Linked DNA regions of Homo sapiens: region 2 is linked to region 1. The links are contacts of gene promoters, found by promoter capture Hi-C in blood cells and fetal thymus (Javierre and others, 2016). All regions are on one chromosome and are shown on one strand. Each heading gives the region's core, a stretch centred on a gene start or on the middle of the fragment in contact. The rest is flanking DNA. Distances are from core to core; before and after follow the strand shown.

What was found. The method cuts DNA at HindIII sites, captures the fragments that hold promoters and counts their contacts. A CHiCAGO score of 5 or more calls a contact.
Region 2: a fragment that was not itself captured here is called in contact with the fragment with the promoter of ZNF622 in region 1 in 1 of 17 cell types (naive B cells); the score reaches 5.4 in naive B cells.

What each region holds. Positions count from the first base shown.
Region 1 is chr5:16,463,097-16,468,630 of GRCh38, reverse strand. It overlaps ZNF622 (zinc finger protein 622), which reads left to right and starts at 2,831. Exons shown (of 6, transcript NM_033414.3): 1 at 2,831-3,590; 2 at 4,889-5,149; 3 at 5,361-5,523. The coding sequence starts at 2,966. RefSeq lists enhancers at 992-1,081, 1,112-1,171, 3,454-3,523 and a silencer at 1,424-1,646. The HindIII fragment of the contact is 4,211 bases long and covers 1,116-5,326 here.
Region 2 is chr5:18,297,566-18,303,099 of GRCh38, reverse strand. No RefSeq gene overlaps it. Among named protein-coding and RNA genes, the nearest start is that of LINC02100, 450 kb to the left of the region's middle. The HindIII fragment of the contact is 6,425 bases long and covers 1-5,232 here.

The DNA.
Region 1 (5,534 bases), core at 1,582-4,081:
TATTTACTGTAGAGGGGGATATGGGGAAAGAGTAAGGTTATCTTGGAGACTGCAGAAGAACAGTACATTGGAAAATTAGTATGGCGGAGGAAACAATACCCCTTTAAAGAAGAAAAGTAAAGAAACTGGAGAGTTCAATGATGCTGAAATAGGAGGAACATGAAAATAGATTAGAGGAGGCAGGGAGGAAATAGTGACCTGAAGAACAGATGCTGGAAGAGCCATATAAGAATGATAATAGGCAAAAGTAAAACCAGAAGTTCTTTACTTTTATAGCCATCTTCTGCTTTACTTTTTAGGGAAGCTTGAAAATATACTCTGCTTTGCTTATTCCAGTTAACAACTAATACTAGCTACATTTCTCAAAGTGAGTATCCAGATGGCTCAGCTATTTTAAAAGATACTGATAATCTCAAAATAAGTTTTCAGAAATAAAAATCACCATCTGACTTAACTTTTGCACTGCAAAAGATTCGTTTAACAAATACTGAACAGTTGATCTGCTGGCACTGTTCTAGCATTAGGGTATACAACAAAGGAGTGCTTGCTGTCATGGAGCTTATGTTCTATCTAGACGCAGATGACTAACATGCAGTGTGACTAGACATCCTGGTTTGCCCAGGATTGAGGGATTTCCTGGGATGCAGGACTTCCAGTGCTAAGCCTGGGAAATCAGTGACAACAAATGCTAGTGGTAGCTGATCTCCCAATGATCCCCTAAAACCACCCTGCCCCCCACTTCCCACTTCCTGGTATTCATGCCCTTATGTTAACCCTTCTCACATTAAATAGGGCTGACCTGCAAAAGTAACAACACATTGTGGAAACGACTGTGTGACTTCCAATGCTAGGTCTATGAATTTCATGTGGCTCTCTGCTGCACTCAAGCAGCCCTATGGAGAGGCCTACTTGTCAAGGAACCAAAACCTCTTGCTATCAGCTATGTAAATGAACCATCTTTAAGGGAGACTCTCCAGCCACAGTCAAATACAGTCAGATCTTCAGATGATTTTAGCCCTGGACAGCATGTTCACTGCAACCTCTTAGGAGATCTTAGTCAGAACCACCCAGCTGAGTCACTCAAATACCTGACATACAGAAACTGAAATAAAGCTTGATGCTAAATTTGGGGGTAATTTAATACAGAGTAGTAGATAACTAATACAGTACTGGAGAAAAGTTATGCCTGGTAAGGACTTAGGAAGGTAGGCACTATTTTTGGTAAGTGGATTTGGATAAGCCTCTCTTACAAAGGCATTTGGGCAGAGATCCAAAAAATAAGGAAGCAAGCCAGCAAAAGGATGTTCCAAGCAGAAGAGTAATGGATTTCTGACTTTCTGACTTAGTACCAACTAAAGTGCTTGTTAGAAGAACATCAAATGTGTCATTGCGACTCAAGTAGGGTGAGCAGGGTAGAGAAGGGGGTGTGGCAGGACCTCAGAGGGAGGGGTAGAGCCTCGGAGAATAGAAAGTAAGGTGTTTGAATTTGATTGAGTCAAGGGAAGGCACTGGAAGGTTTTTTAAAGCGCCATCTTCTTTTGGTTTTCTCTTGGCAGCCTGGATTCTGAGCATGCAACATTCGACTCTAACAAGGCTGACTCTGGTTCAACCAGGCTGTGTGGATGAAATCTACGACCTCCCCAAGCATTTGAAGTTCATGTTTTCTTTTTCTTTTGAGATGGAATCTTGCTCTGTTGCCCAGGCTGGAGTGCAGTGGCGCGATCTCGGCTCACCACAACCTCCGCCTCCCGGGTTCAAGCGATTCTCCTGCCTCAACCTCCCAAGTAGCTGGGATTACAGGTCTGCGCCACTGCGCCGGGACTAATTTTTGTATTTTTTAGCAGAGACTGGGTTTCGCCATGTTGGCCAGGCTGGTCTTGAACCCCTGACCTCAGATGATCCGCCCGCCTCGGCCTCGCAAAGTGCTGGGATTACGGGCGTGAGCCACCGCGCCTGGCCTGAAGTTCTTTTCTACAGAACTTTGCTGTCCTATATACATGAGGGTACACAGCCAACTGGGCACCTGGCACGGGTCTAGTCCAAATTGAGATGGGCTGTTAACTCTAAAACACACACTGGATTTCCAAGACTTAGAACCAACGACAGAGCGTAAAAGATCTAATTAATTCTTTTAGACTGATTACATGCTGAAATGACAGGATGGGCTAAATTAAACACATTAAAAGCAGTTTCACCGATTTCTCTTTACTCTTTAAAAATGTGGCTGCTATTAGAATTACCTACGTGGCTTGGACTGTGTGTCTACAGGGAGCTCCTCTCGCGCACTCTGTGCACTCAAATTCCGCCGGTGTCCTCCGCCGGAAGGGCCGCCTCAGAAAGGCCGAGCCCCCGGCCTGGCTTCTCCGGTTTCCCGGGAAAGCGTTGCAACCACGGGCGAGGGCTCCGAGGTCGGCCCCGAGGGGTAAGGGCAGCCCTTGCCTTCGCGACATCCATTCACCCGGCTCCGCAGGTGCAGCGCGCGGTCCTCAGAGAAACCCCGACCCTCGCGTCGCTGACCCGACCATTCATTAATCGGGGGCTTCCCAGGGCCCAGGAGCAGCCTCGGGCGCCCCACTCCCCCATTCTCGCGTAGCCGTCCCCTTGACCGCGTCACACCGAGCGGCACAACCACCAGGGAAGGTAACTGGGAGGGCGCGACCTCCCTCAATCAACAGCCACCTCGGGCTGACTGAGCGGACCCAGGTCCCTTTCAGCCACAGCGTTCCCTCGGCTTCCTGGGCCTCACGGCGGCGGAGGCGTGGCCACAGCCTGAGAGGCGGGTTTCCTGTCCAGTTGTGAATAACTTCCGACGTGTGCCGGAAGTTTCCTCAGTGACAATCAGGAAGTCGGCGTGTCGAGTGGCTCTTCCTGGCTGCTGAGGCGGGTTAAGGTCTGAGGGTCTTGTGGGGCCACGGCGCTGATCACCAGGTGTTTGGCTTGGTCGGTTCTTATTTCTCGCCTGGCAATGGCGACGTACACCTGCATAACTTGCCGGGTGGCGTTCCGCGACGCGGACATGCAGCGGGCCCACTATAAGACGGACTGGCACCGCTACAACCTGCGGCGGAAGGTGGCCAGCATGGCCCCAGTGACCGCCGAGGGCTTCCAGGAGCGAGTGCGGGCGCAGCGGGCCGTCGCGGAGGAGGAGAGCAAGGGCTCGGCCACCTACTGCACCGTTTGCAGTAAGAAGTTTGCCTCTTTCAACGCCTACGAGAACCACCTCAAGTCCCGGCGTCACGTTGAGCTGGAGAAGAAGGCCGTGCAGGCAGTGAATCGGAAAGTGGAGATGATGAATGAAAAGAACTTGGAGAAAGGACTGGGCGTGGACAGTGTGGACAAGGATGCCATGAACGCGGCCATCCAGCAGGCCATCAAGGCCCAGCCGTCCATGTCTCCCAAGAAGGCGCCCCCAGCGCCTGCAAAGGAGGCCAGGAATGTCGTGGCCGTGGGTACTGGTGGCCGTGGGACCCACGACCGAGACCCGAGTGAGAAACCACCCCGGCTCCAGTGGTTTGAACAGCAGGCGAAGAAGTTGGCAAAGCAGCAGGAGGAGGACAGCGAGGAGGAGGAAGAGGACCTGGATGGAGACGGTGATGGCCCTGTCTGGGCGGGGAGGGTAAAGAGGAACTTGGCCCACCCTTAAGTTTCCAGATTTATACTCGAGATGGGTGTGTGTGTGTGTTTGAGAGCTTTTAAGTAAAAATGATGAGGGAAGGTGGTTTAGACGCTTTCTGAAGTGCCTTATCTGGCCAGCAGGTTTGGCTGTTTAGTTCACTCAATTCATTCTCCAAGGCCTAAAACCTTGTCTGGAAAAAGAAGTGCTTAATGCATATTTGGAGAATGAATTGATGCCTTCTGTGTTTTGGATGAAGAGGCTTTTAACATATGCACAGGAGGACATGCTATCGTCATACCAGCTGCCGTGTAATTTGCGATTCTAGTGGGTTTCCAGTTATGATGGTTTTGCACTTAATTTAGTTGAGTAAAACAGAATGAGGGGATCAAAACCAACTCAGCCAGAAATTTGGAGCTGGAGCCAGCACCCTCACCTCTTTGCCTTTATGAGCTATTTATTCCTTACTTCCCTCATCCCACATCCTATTAACAGTGCTGGTGTAGGTGTTCATGTCTTAGTCTGTCCACTCTGCTATAAGGAAGTACTAGAGACTGGGTGATTTATGAACAACATAAATGTATTTTCCCATAGTTCTGGAAATTGGGAAGTCCAAAATCAAGGTGCTGGCAGAGTCAGTGTCTGGTGAGGGCCTGTTCTATAGATGAAGTTTTCTCATGGTGTCATCATGTGGTGGAAGAAGCAGAAGGCAAAAAAGGGGCTAGCCAGTTCCCTCGCACTAATCCATTTATTCAGGATTAGTGCTTGCCTAACCTAATCACCCACTAAAGGCCCCACCTCTTAATGCCATTTCATTGATGATTAAGTTTCAACATTTGAATTTTGGGAGGGAAACATGCATTCAAACCATAGCCGTTCATAGAGCACCCTACCAGCACATACACACACCCCATAGTACTTTTGTGAAATAGTAGATAGAGGCATTGTTTTAGAAGTTTATAAAAATATCCAGGCAGGTAGGAGACTTCCTAACTATATTTTCAGCACTGGGCTAGGTGCTGTAAGGCATAGGAAAGAAACAAAGAAAAGATTCCTGTTTCCTGGAAAAGAAAGACTAAGGAGTTTCATGGCCATTCAGATGAGTCTGTGGTAAACAAATAGCTAAAATTGAGATCTTGAAAGAGGAGTTGTCCTTGGGAGTTGGGGTGTGGCTGTTTCTCCAAATATAGGACTGTATCACCTCGTGAATTTTTGTGATATCTTTGCTTGCTACTACTTTTCTTAAACTTTATATTTCAAAATTCTGGCTTGCAGATTGGGAAGATATTGATTCTGATGAAGAATTGGAATGTGAGGATACTGAAGCAATGGACGATGTGGTGGAGCAGGATGCAGAGGAGGAAGAGGCTGAGGAAGGCCCACCCCTTGGTGCCATCCCTATCACGGACTGCTTATTTTGTTCCCATCATTCCAGCTCGCTGATGAAGAATGTGGCTCACATGACCAAAGACCACAGTTTCTTTATTCCTGATATAGAATATCTTTCAGATATTAAGGGACTGATTAAATACTTGGGTAAGTACAATAGTTTTCCTTTTAATGAGGAAATAATCACATTATTGGGGGACTGGTCTCAAGGGAACATTAGTTTTGCATTTTTCATCAATCTTTGATATAATTGCTTGGTTATTTTGTGAATGATTTTTGAGTTTTGGTGACAAATAGTGAGATTTAATCTGGTTGCAAAAAGCTTTTTTCATATTTTTTCCTTAAATTATTTTTCTAGGAGAGAAAGTTGGTGTTGGCAAGATTTGCTTGTGGTGCAACGAGAAAGGGAAGTCCTTCTACTCCACAGAAGCTGTACAGGCACATATGAATGACAAAAGCCACTGTAAGCTCTTCACAGATGGCGATGCTGCTTTGGAATTTGCAGACTTCTATGATTTTAGGTAAGCATAGT
Region 2 (5,534 bases), core at 771-3,270, 1.8 Mb before region 1:
AAAAAAAGACTTGGCATCTAGCATTATCCAATATCAGAATTTGTTTTGCTGGATAAAAAAATTAGGATTATAGTGGTGGGTAAGCTACTGAGTTTTGCAGTGTTCTGAGAATTTCTAGGCATTATCAGATTAATTCCTAAGAAAGACCTTATGGAATATGCATTGTCATCTCTATTTTATAAATAAAGCAGGAAGACTAAATATGTCCAATGTCACAAAATTAGTCGCAGAACTAGAATTCAATAAGCCCATGCTCTTTCTCTGGTTAAACCAAGGGTCTTTCAATGCCATGAACAATGCTTGCAAACCAAATGTAGTATTTGGTCCCACAAATTACTGTATCTGCTTACTGTCAGATATAATAAACATCTTATCATAACTCTAGATACTACTTTAACCTATTTGGTTTGTGCTTTATTGACAGCATCAACTCTAAAACATAATCTCTTCTTGAAAATATATGAAATTTACCTACAGCCATCTGACCTTCGACAAAGTAGACAAAAATAAGCAATAGGAAAAGGACTCCCTATTCAAAAAATGGTGCAAGGATAGTTGGCTAGCCATATGCAGAAGAATCAAACTGGATACCTTCCTCTCATCATATGCAAAAATTAACTCAAAATTTAAAAGATTTAAATGTAAAACCTCAAGCTATAAGAATCCTAGAAGAAAACCTAGGAAACACCATTCTGAACATTGACCTCAGAAAAGAATTTATGACTAAGTCCTCAAAAGCAATTGCAACAAAAACAAAAATTGGTAGGTGGGACCTAATGACACTAAATAGTTTTTGCACAGCCAGTGAAACTATCAACAGAGTAAACAGATAACCTATGGAATGGGAGAATATATTCCCAAACCATACATTTGACAAAGGTCTAATATCCATAATCTATAAGGAATTTAACAAGCAAAAAAAAAAAAAAAAAAAAAAAAAACCATTTAAAAATGGGTAAAAGACATGAACAGTCATTTCTCAAAAGAAGTCACAAAAGTGGCCTACAAACATGAAAAAAATGCTTATGTCACTAATCATCAGAGAAATGCAAATGAAAACCACAATGAGATACCATCTCACAGCAGTAAGAATGGCTACAATTAAAACGTCAAAACACAACAGGTGCTGGCGAGGCTGCTGAGAAAGGGGAACACTTACACATTGTTGGTGGGAATCCAAATTAATTCAGCCACTGTGGGAAGCAGTTTGGAGATTTCTCAAAAAACTTAAACTAGAACTACCATTTGACCTAGCAATCGCATTACTGGGTTTATATACAAAAGAAAGCAAATCATTCTCCCGAAAAGACACATGCAGTCATATGTTCATTGCAACACAATTCCACAATAGCAAAGGCATGAAATCATCCTAGGTGTCCATAAATGGTGAAATGTATAAAGAAAATGTGGTACATATACACCATGGAATACCACGCAGTTCTAAGAGAATGAATTCATGTCCTTTGCAACAACATAGATGCAGCTGGAGGCTATTATTCTAAGTGAATTAGCACAGGAAAAAAAAAAAAAAAAACAAATACCACATGTTCTCACTTGTAAGTGGGAGCTAAATATTGGGTACTCAGGGACATAAAGATGGTAACAACAGAAATGGGAAATACTAGAAAGGGGAGGGAGTAAGGGAAGAAAAGGTTGAAAAAGTGTTGAGTACTATGCTCACTACCTGGGTGATGGGATCATTTGATCACCCCAAACTTCAGTATCATGCAGCACACCCAGGTAACAAACCTGCACATGCACTCCCTGAATCTAAAGTAAAAGCTGAAAAAGAAGAAAATAGGTGTGAAACAGATTATAATTTCTTATGGCAACAGACAATCTCATTAAACATCAGATCCAATAATTCATTTTTAAAATTCTAATTAGGTATTAATCTACACACTTTAGAAAGAGGCCAGGAAATTAAATTAGTTTTAAAATTTAACAACGAAATAATTATAAATAGTATGTGTACCCTATTTTGCAAACAAAATAAAATTATCATTTTATTCAAATGGTAATACCACTTGTGATTGTCAAATAAATGTTTCTTCTCAGTGACATTACCATTTGAATCAAAATGATTATTCAGTGAATTCGCAATCTTCACTCAGTCTCCATTTTTAGTTTGTTGGATTAAAAAAATGCTTCAAGGCTTTAAATCCTTCCAATGTAGTAGACATCAATGTTTTTTCAGTACAATAAGATTTTTCATTATAATTGTTACTTCACTATTTCACCTGTTTAAAATTAATATCTAATATGAGTATATATATATAAATAATTATTTATGCTAGGACTTAACTACTTCTGAAGTACTTTTTTTCCTACAATAAAATAAAACTGCTTCCCATGGAAGAACTTGTCCTGTGATTCTCTATGAATGACAGAATGAACATACATGTACTAGCATCAGGAAAAACTCAAATTGCCAGTGAATTAACTCGTTGAACTCATTGTTCTGTGTTGCTTTACTCTGACAGACAGTGTATGTTTCTACCTTAAACTATGTCATGTGGTCAGAACAAGACATGAAAATAAAGATCTAGTCTAAGGCCCAGCCTATAAAACATCAGAAAATAAAACAATATGGACGAATGTAATTCAAAAGTTTCTATAAAATTTGTTTCATCTCTGTAATTCTCTTTCATTTTATTTGCTTTTTAGAAATTTCAAGTTAAGGAAATTCAGTTGTACTTGTTTCTGGCATGTGGGCATTCCTCTAAAGATGCGATAAACAGAAAAACAAAGTCTGCCATAACCATTCAAAGCAGGAAAGGGCAACCTCGAAAAACATACTTATAATGATATTGATGCATATTTTAATAGAAAAATAAAACTTATTTTAGGGAAATCTCTGTTCTGTTCTAAAAAATTCCCTCTTTGTGAACCCTTGAATATTTAAAAACATTTAAGAAATTGACCCCTCCATTTATATTTTAATAAGAACCTTATGGCTTATATTTATATCATCTGTTCATTAAATAGGTCATCACTTTTAAGAAGCCAAATATTTCAGTTACTCCTGGCTGCAGAGCAGTCATTTTAAGTCTATAAAAGAAAATACAGGAAAAAAAAAAAGAATTAGTATCTCTGGGTGTCAAGATTAACTTAAAGTTTCTCCCTAGACATTATGTCAACAGATCTTCTTCCCTTCCTTCAATAGAAGCAGTAAGAAGAATTTCATGAGCCTATAAATTTATTACCCCTAGAGATGTAAAAAATGGATTAAAACTCTTCAAATTCCTTCACACCCTTCCCTATTGTTGGAGATACAGACAAAGCAGTGATGACTTATAATGACAATGTGTTTATTAAGAAGAGAGAGAATGGTGGTATAAAAGTTAGATATGGAAAGTGTGGAGCAGGTATAGCTTAAGCTCTATGGGCATAATTATCTTAATTGAGCAATGCACTAGAAAATGATTATCTAATTCACTGGTTCTCAGCCATGGTTACACATTAAAATCACCTGGAATGATTTTTTTTAAGAAAACACCCAAGCCTGAGCCCAAGTCTGAGCACAAGTACTGAGGCTTCTGACTAATTTATTGTCAGTTGAAGCCTGATATGGTTTATCTCTGTGTCCCCACCCAAATGTCATGTTGAATTGTAATTCCCAATGTTGGGGGAGAAACCTGGTTGGAGGTGATGTGATCATGAGGATGGATTTCCCCCTTGGCTGTTCTCATGATAATGAGAGCATTCTCAGGAAATCTATTGTTTTAAAGTGTGTGGCACTTCCCCTTTTGCTCACCCTTTCTTCCTCCTGCTCCACTATGTGAAGATTGTGCCTGCTTCTCATTCACCTTCAGCCATGACTGTAAGTTTGCTGAGGCCTCCCCAGCCATCCCTCCTGTACAGTCTATGGAACTGTGAGTCCATTAAACTTCTTTTCTTTATAAATTACCCAGTCTCAGGTAGTTCTTTATGGCAGTGTGAGAATGGACTAATAGAAAGCCTAATATTCAATGTGTAAATTACCCACTCCCCACACCTGGTGTTTGTAATGGACAGCTAGGAATAAGAATCACTGCTCTTAATTTTGATAAACTGTTCAAGTCATAATATTGCTCCAATTTGTAGGGAAAATTTACAAGGTTTGATTTATCTTCTTGATTGCTACAGAATATTTTTCACTCATTTAGATTGACCACCTATCCGTGTGGCTTACCTAAAAGATGTTGAAAGTATATCAAGCCCAACAGGAAGGAAGAATTAGGAATATAAATGATGGTTTATAGATGAGGCAGTTGATTGTTTCATTTACCTTTGTGAAGAGTGATGAAGGAATGGAGACGTTACTTTAACTTAATAGAGACACATTTTGTTTAATTATAAATTATGTGTCTTATGGAAGAAAGATAAATTAGAAAACCAAAAGAATTTTTGCCAATATTGAAACTCAATTGAAGAGATAGTTATGAAGTAACCTGGGCAAATGATTTAGGACAATAGAATCATTTTTTTGGAAAAATGTTTTTATATCTTCAACTATTATAGGTGTTCTTTGGCATGGTGGAGGAATATACTGATCACAGTGAAGATCCCAGGATGATATTAAGGGTTTCCTGACAAAAACTCTTGTCACAATAGCCCATTTTCTTGGTGATTTATGAGATTATAGAAGTTGTTGCTCCCTAATGTCATTTGACCTTGTACAGGGTCAGGTCATCTCTTTCATTGTCTAATTACTCTTAACTACATTTTTTGTCATTTTTGTTGCAATGTTTTGAACAATCTGAAGATGGAAAAAATAAATTTAGAATTTCAGGGAAGACATCTTTGGCAAGATGGGCATTGTATAAATATATGTAGTGTGTGTGATTTTAGAAAATAAAACTTTTCACCAATGGTGGAGGGAATCTCCCAAAGTACAGTGAGTAGAATTTGAATTTAACATCATACTTTTGTTTTCCTTGATGAAAATCTAGACCTATCCAACTTAAGTCTCAGGAATTAAAACCTTTACTGTATGTTTACTCTGTCTTGCAAATCATTGTTGCACTTTTTAAAACTTTGAAATAATTTATTTTTATTCATCAGGTGCAGATGAGGTGATGTAATTGCAGAATTTATTGATAAACTATTGAAATAGCAGCTTTGCTCCAATAACCTTCAACATTTCTTAGAGTTATGTTTTGCTTTATGCTAGTATGTAGGTTTTCAAAATCGCTAACACTTTCGTTGTTTGTGTGTGATTTCTAGGCCAATGGATCTGCTAAAAAAGCTTTCCAGACTTCCATTTTTTTCAAGTACCTTTACGATTTCATTTTTAAATGTTTATTTTGAATTAAGATGTGGGTAAAAAATTTAACCTCTATTTCCCACTGATAATGACATGACAATATTTCATAGACTAAATTACCTGTCTATTGATCTATTGTTAACTTCTAGGAGAGCCATTAATTTCTTTTTTGTATAAAAGACTTATAATCACTATAGTTTCATGTTCTAATTTTGTAACTACTAATTTCACATTTTACTACTTTCTCATGATTTTGTGATTATTTTAGTACTTACTGTTTACAAAT